4 separate regions of the Homo sapiens genome follow, and all the other regions are linked to region 2. The links are contacts of gene promoters, found by promoter capture Hi-C in human tissues and cell types (Jung and others, 2019). All regions are on one chromosome and are shown on one strand. The core of a region is centred on a gene start or on the middle of the fragment in contact, and the rest is flanking DNA. Distances in the headings are between cores, read along the strand shown.

Evidence for each region. The method cuts DNA at HindIII sites, captures the fragments that hold promoters and counts their contacts. A contact is called where the count stands out against the background at its distance.
Region 1: a fragment that was not itself captured here is called in contact with the fragment with the promoter of KCNA4 in region 2 in 2 of the 25 tissues and cell types used here (dorsolateral prefrontal cortex and liver).
Region 3: a fragment that was not itself captured here is called in contact with the fragment with the promoter of KCNA4 in region 2 in 3 of the 25 tissues and cell types used here (heart left ventricle, heart right ventricle and mesendoderm cells).
Region 4: a contact is called between a fragment that was not itself captured here and the fragment with the promoter of KCNA4 in region 2, in 3 of the 25 tissues and cell types used here (dorsolateral prefrontal cortex, hippocampus and stomach).

What each region holds. Positions count from the first base shown.
Region 1 is chr11:29,552,342-29,555,227 of GRCh38, forward strand. All of the region lies in intron 1 of LINC02755 (long intergenic non-protein coding RNA 2755), which reads right to left. Among named protein-coding and RNA genes, the nearest start is that of LINC02755, 41 kb to the right of the region's middle. The HindIII fragment of the contact is 3,890 bases long and covers 1-2,886 here.
Region 2 is chr11:30,015,727-30,018,426 of GRCh38, forward strand. KCNA4 (potassium voltage-gated channel subfamily A member 4) reads right to left here and starts at 1,304. Exons shown (of 2, transcript NM_002233.4): 1 at 846-1,304. The HindIII fragment of the contact is 10,149 bases long and covers 1-2,700 here.
Region 3 is chr11:29,705,603-29,708,302 of GRCh38, forward strand. No RefSeq gene overlaps it. Among named protein-coding and RNA genes, the nearest start is that of LINC02546, 110 kb to the left of the region's middle. The HindIII fragment of the contact is 4,665 bases long and covers 1-2,700 here.
Region 4 is chr11:29,681,235-29,684,189 of GRCh38, forward strand. No RefSeq gene overlaps it. Among named protein-coding and RNA genes, the nearest start is that of LINC02546, 88 kb to the left of the region's middle. The HindIII fragment of the contact is 7,986 bases long and covers 1-2,955 here.

The DNA of each region.
Region 1 (2,886 bases), core at 44-2,543, 460 kb before region 2:
CTTCTTATACCATCTCAGGAAAGATGATGAAAGAAGGGCTAGCCTGAAAGAAACTTCTGCCTTCTTTGGAAATGAGATGCAAAAAGTATGGCTCCCTGCTACAACAAAAATGGATCCCCCAAGGAGGACATAACTGGAATTGCTGTCATTGTTACCCCTTTGAAAATCTCAGCCAGCTAGAGGACCAGAGACATTCTCATCAAGATTAAAGCCAGAGCAACCACCACCAACAAATGATGACAAATCCCTGCCAGGATTGGAGTGGGTTTGAATGGCATAGCTGGCCCCTGGTACTCCTGAGTGGTTAGATCGTCAGTCTTACCTGTTCATTTTGTTAACCTCATAGTAGTACAGCAACATATTTTACTTGTTTGAATTGTTTGTGTTAGAATCAGGTATTAACCTTGTAGGCAACATGGATAATATATTTCTGTAGTTCAACATAATTTCCATTTTAAATTCACAATTTATTAGAGCAGCAGAAAATAATGTCAATAAAATTGAAGCCTCTTTTTCTTAAGGGATTGTGCCTAAGGAGCTTACTTAATTCCAAGACTGGGTGTGTGGTGAGGAGGGGAGAAAATGGAGAGGACGCTATGCCTCATTATTTCCTAAGATGCTCATCATTCCAAATGATCATCCATCACTGGTCTTAAGGTCACTTTTGTCTTCTGGTCTCTTTGGGTCTGAAAGATCTCTGCTATGTCCATTATTCAGGTGGGGGTTTGGAAATAACTGCAACCTATCTAGAAACTCATCTGCCAAATGAACTTCGCAACAATTTCCTATGTGGGGGCATATCACCTTCCTGAGACTCTGCCTGAGGTAAAGGCACAGAGCCTCACTCCCTTGATCAAGCTTCCTTCCATCCTTCTTACTCCAACCTGTTTTCTGTTTGCCACAGAAATCTCACCTTCTTTCAGAGACACAAAGGGAACTCTACCCCAAGATCAATTTTATAAAGGCTCATAATTCCAGTTCTCTCTTGATAATAGAGCAGTCTCGAAATCAGTTACTAAATGTAGGGTGGATTAATTTTAGATCTTGTGTATAGGACTTGGTCTGAATCCTTTAAAATCGTAGGTATATACTTTACATAAGCCTTACCCCAAGGGCAGCCATAATTTTCTTTCAACCATATTTTGTAGGCTGGTGAGTCCTGCACCTGCCCCAAGTTTCAGGCAATTAACTTGACTGTGGTCTCCTGCCATGCACACTGAGCTTTAGCTCTCATTAATCTGTGGGAGACAAATTCTAGCTTCCTCTAGACTGAGAACCAGCAGGCCTAGCTCCAGTCTCTAATCACTAACTTATCACTGTGACATTTTTTTCCCTTTCTGGTCTGTGGAGATATTTCTCTTCTTTTGAGTTTACCATATCTTAGTCATTTTGCCATTCTTTAAAATTATTCTTTGACTGCTAAGCTTGGAGTTGATGGAGAAGTTCAAGCCTAAACTCATAATGTCATCCTGACCCTTGGTCCCAAACTGTTGGTATCTGATTATCTAGTTCTCAGGGTGAATTTGGATATTTGTAGACTTGAAGGCCCAAATAGACAAGTGGACACTCCATGTTAATCATAGCCCAACTTATCCTAGAAAGAAAATTAAGTTTAATTAAGTTCCTCAATATATTTCACCTAAGATGCAAGAACAAATAAACCCTGAAAAATATTTTTTATAGTGAAGCCCTTGCTCAGAGAAAAAACAGAACAAAACCTCAAGAACTGTGATTAATTATACTAAAGGATATTTTCAGGCATGGACTTGTCTTGAAAACGTGCTGTTGGGCCTAATTGTATTTACAGTTCACACTCATATATAGAGCACTGGTAGACCAGTCAGTGAGTGAATGATTATAGTCCTATTTTTGGCTTGAACATTCATCAATGTGTGAGTGTTGGCAGGAAAGCCACTAAACTTTTCACAGTATGTCTTCTCATTGTAAAATGGAAATATTAATTCCTGCCATTATTGTGGTATGGTTATGAAGAACAAACAAAACACAGCCAAATGATGCTATAAATCTGTTTTGAGATTATCCCTGGCACATTTACCTAGTAAAATTTTGCATTCATTTTGCATAGTAAAATGAATAGTTGTTATTTTAAAAGAGGGTAAAAAAAATAAGCTAAGTAATTCAAGAATCTAAAAACAACTATAAAATAAGCAATACATTAAACAAATATTAAAATTACTTAACCAAAAAGAAAGCTATTTTGTTTAAAAGATTAGTAGAATTAAGACGAGATTTTAAATGTCTCTTTCTACTGAGGTTAATGCTAAAAAATTGTATCTTTGAGTTTTTTTTTCTTTTTTTAGAAAATGATAGTGGAAAAATTTTTATCAGAAGAAAGCTTAAAAGCATAGGTAAAATTAGCCTTTTTTTCTAGAGAAAATATAAGTATCAAAAATGACAGAAGGAATAGATCAATTAAATACTGTAAAGAGTATATAGCTAAAAATAATCAATTCCCAATGTCTCAAAATTCACCTTATAGTACTAATTATAACTGTGGCCAAATCTCCAAGGTACAGATAATGCTTATATATTATGACCTTTCCAGACACTATAAAAAGAGGACAACCTGTCAAGAAAGTTTATTACTATCTTTGGTTTTTCATGTTATGATTGTTTATCTGCTAAGAAATTATTGGAACTGTTATTACAGTTTGTTATTAATGCCAAAAATTAGATCGATATGCAAAGGCCAATGGAAGAAATAGTTAGCAACAATAAGAGAAAAAAGTATATAGAGAAAAAATATCTAAAATATCAGAAAAACCTTTATGATATCAAAGAATGTAATAAAAGTAAAACCATTATAGAATAATAATTTTTAAAATATTTGTGAAAGATATGTATGAATACCAAAACAGGTGGTAA
Region 2 (2,700 bases), core at 54-2,553:
TCTCTTCTTTCTCAAGGTACTCTTGTTAGGAGAATCTATTCAAGCCAATTCCCAGGAGCCTTTATGAGAGAGATCTTTGCAGAGGAATTTGTCTTCTTCTTTAACACCATTAAACTAATAGGATTTTGCAGACTACCTATTCCCCAATCCCGGCGCCCCCAAACAACAGCCAAGCATCCCGCCCCTCCTCCTCTCACCCCTCCAACAACAAGGCTGTTCGTCTCTCAGTGCTAATTCCTGCAACTGTGTCACTGTCAGGGTGGTACCTGAACCTTAGAGAGAGAGAGAGAGAGAAAGAGAGAGAAACTGAGAGAGGGAATCAGAAAAGCCACCACCGTGAGAAATATACACTTCAACGCACGCCATTTATGCAGCCCCTATGTATGTTGCTCAAATGCTCGGAAAATGCACGCAAATCCAAACGTTGGAAGAGGCAGCAATTCAGACCCGTTCACCGGCTGTTCCCAAAAGAAGGGAACCGGTGCGGCTGGGAGGAGGCGAAACGATGCTAAATCTTAACCCCCCTCTCGTTGGGAAACGACATCTTTAATCGCGCCCTCGCCTCCAGACCTCGGTTCCCGCTCCAGCACGTTAAGCAGGGCGCACTCACCGCATCCCCGGGTTTGGGAAAATAACAACTGTTGGCCCCCCGGAGCGCCGCGCAGCATCCGCACCTCCCTTCTCCCACCTCCTGGTTTATTTTTAACCGCCTTCCATTCATGCCCTTCTGTCACATTCCCGATATTATTTATCCCTCAAATGTCCACTGTTTCTTAACAGCCAAAATAAGAAGGTAGAGGAAAGATACAAAAAAAAAAAAAAAAAAAAAAAGGTATCATACTTACCGTTCCCCGGCGGGGCGAAAAATAAAAATAAAGAAAATCCACCGGCTGGCTTGTTTTTCCCCCTCAAGCTGCAACAGCTGGAGGAGGGGAAGAATGATCCTGGGTGGGGGGCGGGGGGTGGTAAAAGGAATCACTCGGGTTTGGCAGGTGGAGGCTCCAAATATCCACGGAACAAGTTCTGTTGCCTGGCCCGAGGGGTGCACAGAGTCCTCGCGGCTGGAGCCTGGGGGTGGGGGTTGGGGCTGCCCCAGAGAAGACCCCAAGACTCCTGGTTCCTCTGGAGTTCAGCACAGGAGGGATTGCCTGGGAAAGGAAGTCAAGGTTCCCCCGAAAAGAAACAAAATCCTAGACAGCAGCGATCACTTGTTAAGCCCGAATTCCTCCTCCAACATCCATCCCTCTCTCGCTCTCGCTGGCTGCGGGAGCAGCACACGCCTCCCCTGGCCGCGAACGCGCTCTGGGCGGGGGCGGGGCCAGGGCCGAACCGAGGGTGTGGCGTTCGCGACGGTCGCCAGGGGCGCCTCCCGGCGCGGCGGGGCGGGTGCAGTCACGACGCCGCGACTCCCCGCACCCCGGCTGGGCCCCCCGACTCCCAGGATCTGGGATCGATTCCAGGAGTCTTTGGCTGTGGTCCCCACAGGCGAGGAGCAAATCCTGGAGAAGTGTCCCCGTTGGGGCCGGAATAGGGGTTTCGACGGCAGCGCGGGAGTCCCCAGAGGGCTTGGGAGCGGGGAGCTCCAATGGGAGGTGCAGTCCCGAAAATGGGGTCCTCTGGGACATCTCCTCTACCTAACTTGCTTTCTCTATATCTCCCCTCGAGCCCCGAGCCCCGTCTTCTTTTCCCCACCCCATCCCCTCCCAAAGCGGGTTTGTTGGGTTGGGAGCCGGGTGCATCTCCGGCGAGGCCACGGGCGGGGAGCCCTCCTGTGCCTGCCAGAGCGCCCAGATCCCTCAGTCTCCGTCTCCTTTGCACACAGGAGTTGGGAGGCTTCAGCGCCGGGGTTGGGCCTCAGGGGCGCGGAGGAGACCGACTTTCAACCTGTATTCAATCCCGGGCAGGGGAATGTTACAGAAATTGGAATCAGGCCCAGGCTAGGGGCTGCGCACAGGAGGCAGCAGTTCTAGGGGAGGAGGGTTGGAGAGATGAGTAAGTTGCAGGGTGGGCCAGGGGCTGAGGGCTTTGGAAGGCGGGGGAAGAGCCCGCAGCCAACCTGTTGCTGCAAAAACAAATACGGCTCTGGTATCGACTCCCTGAGGGCTCTTTGGATCCTTCAGGACAGAAATCAAGGGATATCGCAGCAAAAAGCAAGTTTTTTTGGTTTTCTTTCTTTCTTTCTTTTAATTAAAGCTTGTGCGCACAAGGGAGCTAACACCAAGAAAAAAAAAAGTGGGCTGTTCCTCGAAGTCAGGGTGTGGGTTTCTTTTACGGGCCTCTCCCGTAAGGGGAAATAAGGAGAACTATAGACAGGGCATGTAGAGGTGGAGTTTTTCTGGTGCATGCATGGTGGTTTAACATGCTTCTTCATAGGACGTATGTATCATTAGCATCTTAAATCTCCACCTCTGGGAAAGATTTTTTGCATTAAATTAAGGAAAAGGTCACTATGAGTTGAAAGTTAAACCTAGCCGCCGCGCATGCCAGGGCCTCGGGCAAGTCCCTGGTCCCCTAAAGCCGAAACTTCTGGTTAATAGCTTCTTGAGCTTTTCATGCTAATTGGCTGGAGTTACAGTTTGAGGAAGGGTCTCTCCTTGTTTCTTGTTTATTTCTTCGGACCACATCAAAACAGGAAAGTAGACAGTTTGCCTGTCTCAGGCTTGCCAGAATCAACCGGGCGAGAGGTTTGGCTCCCGGGAG
Region 3 (2,700 bases), core at 53-2,552, 310 kb before region 2:
GTATATAAAACTAATTATATACATAAAACCAGTAGAATATGTACCATGTAAATAGAATATATACTAATTACATACATAAAACCAATAGAATATATACCATGTCTAAACATACAGTTAGATAAAAGGCCTAAGTTCTTTTTTTTTTTTTTTTTTTTTGTGAGCAACAAGGCTGTTTATTTCACGTGGGTGCAGGCGGGCTGAGTCCAAAAAGAGTCAGTGAAGGGAGGTAGGGGTGGGGCCGTTTTATAAGATTTGGGTAGGTAAAGGAAAATTACAGTCAAAGGAGGGTTGCTCTCTGGCCGGCAGAGGTGGGGGTCACAAGGTGCTCAGCGGGGGAGCTTTTGAGCCAGGATGAGCCAGGAGAAGGAATTTCACAAGGTAATGTCATCAGTTAAGGCAGGAACAGGCAATTTTTACTTCTTTTGTCATTCTTCAGAGGCCATCTGGATGTATACGTGCAGGTCACAGGGGATAAGATGGCTTAGCTTGGGCTCAGAGGCCTGACATTCCTGTCTTCTTATATTAATAAGACAAATAAAATGAAATAGTGGTAAAGTGTTGGGGTGGCAAAAATTTTGGGAGGTGGTATGGAGAGATAATGGGTGATGTTTCTCAGGGTTGCTTCGAGTGGGATTAGGGGCGGCGTGGGAACCTAGAGTGGGAGAGATTAAGCTGAAGGAAGATTTTGTGGTAAGGGGTGATATCGTGGGGTTGTTAGAAGAAACATTTGTCATGTAGAATTATTGATTATGTCCTGGATACGGTTTTGTATGAATTGAAAAACTAAATGGAATAAGAAGGAGAAAAACAGGTATTAAAGGACTGAAAATTGGGAGGACCCAGGACATCCAATTAGAGAGTGTCCAAGGGGGATTCAGTGTAGTTACTTGCTTGGTTGGTGAGTTTTTCGGCTCTATTCTTGACAGAGTCCCTTTTTTAAGTTGGAGGCTGAGCTTGGTGTGGTGTGTTTTTAAAAGACCATTAGTCCATTCTAACTTTCATTAAGATTGAGGACGGTAAGTGATATGAAGGTTCCACTGAATACCAAGAGCCTGAGAAACTGCTTGGGTGATTTGACTAGTAAAGGCCGGTCCGTTATTGGACTGTATAGAGGTGGGAAGGCCAAACCGAGGAATTATGTCTGACAGAAGGGAAGAAATGACTGTGGTGGCCTTCTCAGACCCTGTGGGAAAGGCCTCTACCCATCCAGTGAAAGTGTCTTCCCAGACCAAGAGGTATTTTAGTTTCCTGACTTGAGGCATGTGGGTAAAGTCAATTTGCCATTCCTGGGAGGGGGCAAATCCCTAAGCTTGATGTATGTGTAGGGAAGGTGGGGGGGCCTGAACAATCCCTGAGGAGTAGTAGAATAGCAGATGGAACACTGAGAAGTGATTTCCTTAAGGATAGACTTCCACGATGGAAAGGAAATGAGAGGTTCTAAGAGGCGGGCTAGCGGCTTGTAACCTACATGGAAGAGGTTAGGAAATGACAACAGAATAGAATGGGCCTGTGAGGCTGGAAGGAGATATTTTCCTTGGTCTAAGAACCATTTGCCTTGTGTGGGAAGAGATTGATAGGTGGAAGTTTTAGTGGGGGAGTAGGTGGGAATGGCCAAATGAGAAGGAGAAAAACTGCCATGAGAGATAGAAGTTGGAATGCTAGCAGCTTTTTTTTTTTTTTAAGCTATCTTATCAGCATAAGCATTGTCCTGAGCAATGGGATCTGATGAAAAGGCATAAGTTCTAGCATTCAATACTACAGTAGGAAAATTGTAGTTAAAATAATTAATGTATATTTCAAAATAGAAGAATTGTAATGTCCCCAACACAAAGAAAAGATAAATGTTTGAGTGGATAGATACCCCATTACTCTGATTTAATCATTAAACATTCTATACATATATCACAATATCACACATATACCAAGAACATGTACAACTATTATTTAATCAATAAAAATTACAAAAAAAGACATTTTGATTACCAATAATAAAAGCTTATGCTGGTTTAGGCAGAACAATTTCCATTTCTGTTGGTTTCTCACACTAAAGTCAGATCTCTCACTCTTTAATAGGACATTGGCCACCACTATCTCCATGTATGGCAACTTTATTTGGGATGGGAAGCAAAAATGTTTTAATATTTTATTCTGAAAAGTTTTCAATTTGAGCTGTATATATTTGAATCCCATTGAACTGGCTAGTTTTGCATCCCTATCCCTAAACCTATCACTGAAGCCAGGGTAATAAGATATTCTTATTTGCCAAGCCTACACAATATGACCATTCTCAGTACAGGATTGAGGATAGCCCAGCTCCATCCAGAAACATAAGCTGAGAGATAAGGATGGGTGTATTTCTCACTTTTTACTAAAACAGTCCACTCTTCACTCTACCTCCTTCAGGAAATCCAGGCTCTTAAACACAACAGAAAACCATTATCTACAAAAATAGAAAATGCTGCTAATTTTAGTTTGTAATTTTTTTTTTCCTGAGAGGCAGCCAAGCACAGTGTGAAAGCCCATGACCTGGAAATCACGAATGTCAGGTACTAGTTCTGGCTCAGCCGACATCTCAATACATGAATTTCTGTAAGTCCTGCTTCAGGTTCTAGAAATAACACACTGGAGACCAAATCTCAGCTACAACACTTTTTAGGTAGTTTATATTGGGTGATGTTATGAATTGAATTATGCCCCCAA
Region 4 (2,955 bases), core at 409-2,908, 330 kb before region 2:
CCTGCAATATGAATTGCTTTTATTTTCCTTGACCTAACTAAATACATACTAAGATTTCCTCTCTCCTCATTTTGGACTGAAATACAAAATAAACAAGCTCCTAGTTACATCACACATTCAGTGCATTTCTTATAACGTGCTGTATTAGGAATATCCACCCTGTGTTATCTTTGCTTACAGCTTGTTATTTCAAAGATAATGAAATAGAAGTAAGTTGATGCAGACTGGAGTTTTACAAATAAAACTATCAAATGAATGGAGCATGGAAATCTATTCAAGCAGAGGAAATACACTCCATTATAACAAGATGCCAGTGCCTGTTGATGAGCAACCATCTGAATATAATTGTTAGCACTGAAAGTTTCCAATGCCTGAAATACCTGCAGGCAGGGTTTTCTTAGGTCAGCATTGAAAAGTTATAGAAATGATGCACTGCTGTCTCAAAACTCATTGGTAATACCACAGTCTTCACCAAAGTTAAACCTTGCTTTGCCTGAGAAAGGTTTTCTTAGAACACTTTGCCTGTCTTTCACTTTTTCTTTTGCCCATGTTATTCTTAGGATAGCTTCAATTTATTATAACTAAATAATGGTAAATTTTATAATTTATTTTAACAGTGGTTGTTAACTACAAATTTAATTTTGCACTATTCTGATAATATCTACTACCTTCTTTATGCCATACTTGATGGAAGGTGTTGGGATATGGAGTGAAAGTCCATTCCACTCTAAATTTTGTGAGAGCAGGAACCTTGTCCTTCTTGTTCACCAGTAATATACTCTGTGCCTAGCACTCACCTGATACAGAATAAGTACTCAACAAATAAATGATTTTTATTAATTGAATGAATAAATAAAAATTCATTGCAAAATGTTCACAGTCTGGTGAAGCTAATTATATTGTTTTTAATAAGTGTGATAATAGTGATATAAATGCCTGCTTTCTGGGGCTGAGATGAGGAAAAGTCTAACTGATATGCTTAGTTCAAGAATTCCACTATGGAAAGTAAATTGGAGCCTTTTTGGCCAGCTTGAGTAAGAAACTCTCCTACAATGAAATGGTGAAGAAGAAAGTCACATCCCATCTCAATCTGGCAGAACAAGTGAAGATAAGAATGGGAAAATGTAAAAGGACCCCAGATATGTTGCAGAAAATGCTGCTTCTGGTATTTTTCATTATTCGTAGAGACTCCAAAGAGCCAAAAAGAGCTGAGATTCCTGAGAATTAATGGCGCTAAAAACTTAGAGGGACTTTACAGAATAGAAGGAGGCCTTGTAATCTGACTCACCGGCCTCGTTGGAGTATATTTAAGCCTCTTCCAAATAGATAAAGAAAAAAAAAAAAAACCTGGCAAAAATCCAGCTAACCAAACAAAATAACACCCACTTCATTTAATTACCTATATCTTTACTGGCTTTGTCAATGAATAAGTGGTTGGATATAGGAGGAACTGGTAAGACACATAAAGATCTATGTCTTGGGTAAAGAGGCAGAGAGCAAATCAGTATGTTCATGCTAATGGGCTGCTATAGCATTTTGTATATTTACAACAAGGTCTAAAACTACATACTCTGCCGGTAAATCATAAACATTTTAAATTCAGTAAGAAAATCAAGAATATCTGGAGTAGTAAGAAAAATATGAAGCTTAAATCTAAAATTAAACCCACGAGTATAAACAATTCAACCAAGAGCCAGGTGTTGGATGCAAAATCAACTAAAATTTTAGCGACTTCAGTGGTATTTTAGCTAGCTGAAATCATTTCAGGAGGCTGGAAGGCACAGCTTGCCATATCCAAGAGATTGAGCTTACATCCCAAACTTAGAATAGAGCCTTTCCTGGTTATGCTGTTGATATTTTAAGAAACATGACAGCCCCATCTGCCATCCATATGAGAAGTCACTCTTTCCAAGATGTCACTGAATTTATGCCTATAACCCTAAACTAACAGGAAAAGGAAATATCATTCTCCCTCATCTCCTTCCAAGAAAGGTTTAATGTGCAAAAGTCTAGCACTCTTTCCAAGAAGATAACCAAAGATTTTTTTCTACCAATATATACCAAAGTATGTCAATATCCAAAGAAGATAAGAGGTAGAAAAGAGTCTCAATACCCATGTTGATTATTTTTAACCTAAAATTTCCCTGCCAAACCTTCACTAACCACTCCATATGCATTATTTTATTTAAGCCTTACAATGACTCTAGGAATTTAGTTAAAGGTATAATCATTAAGTAGGTGAAAAAAAAAAAGTCCCTACAGAAGTTAAGGTACTGGTTCCATCCACAACAAAGTTACAGAAATGAGATTCAATTCCACATTTTTCTAATGCCAAATTCTATACTCTTAACTATTCTGATATGGTGTCTCTATAATCGCATCACATCCTTGATTACCATTTCTTCACAGTCTCTCTCATGTGTAGCAAGGTTCCTCATTCTTCTATAGGCTAGTTATGGATAGAATTTTGGTTGTCTATGAATGTGGTTGGGAAAAAATTATGTATCTTTATATTTTCACCAACTTCTAAGGCACGTTAACATAGCCTTACATTATTAATTTAGGCAAAACACTGTAGTAACATCACCAGTACCTCTAACTTTGTCACTAATAGAAACCACAGATATTTTCATATCACTTTACATTGCAAATATCTCAAAATACGTTTGTCATCACCATTTATTGCAATTATGTAATTAGGTTGTTAGTACCTGCCACTAAATCTTCTTATTTATTGCACTAATAAAGAAGCACATATACTATGATTATCACTATTTTAAAAATATATTTTGGTTCAACACAAATGCCTTTGAAATCATAATAGTCTTGTTTAACGTTACTCAAAAATTTTCTGAGAAGCGGCTTTACTATATTACCAAAAAAGTGCACGGCACATACAAAACTGAAGAAATTCTGTTCCATAGGACAGTGGTCCCCAACCTTTTTGGCACCAGG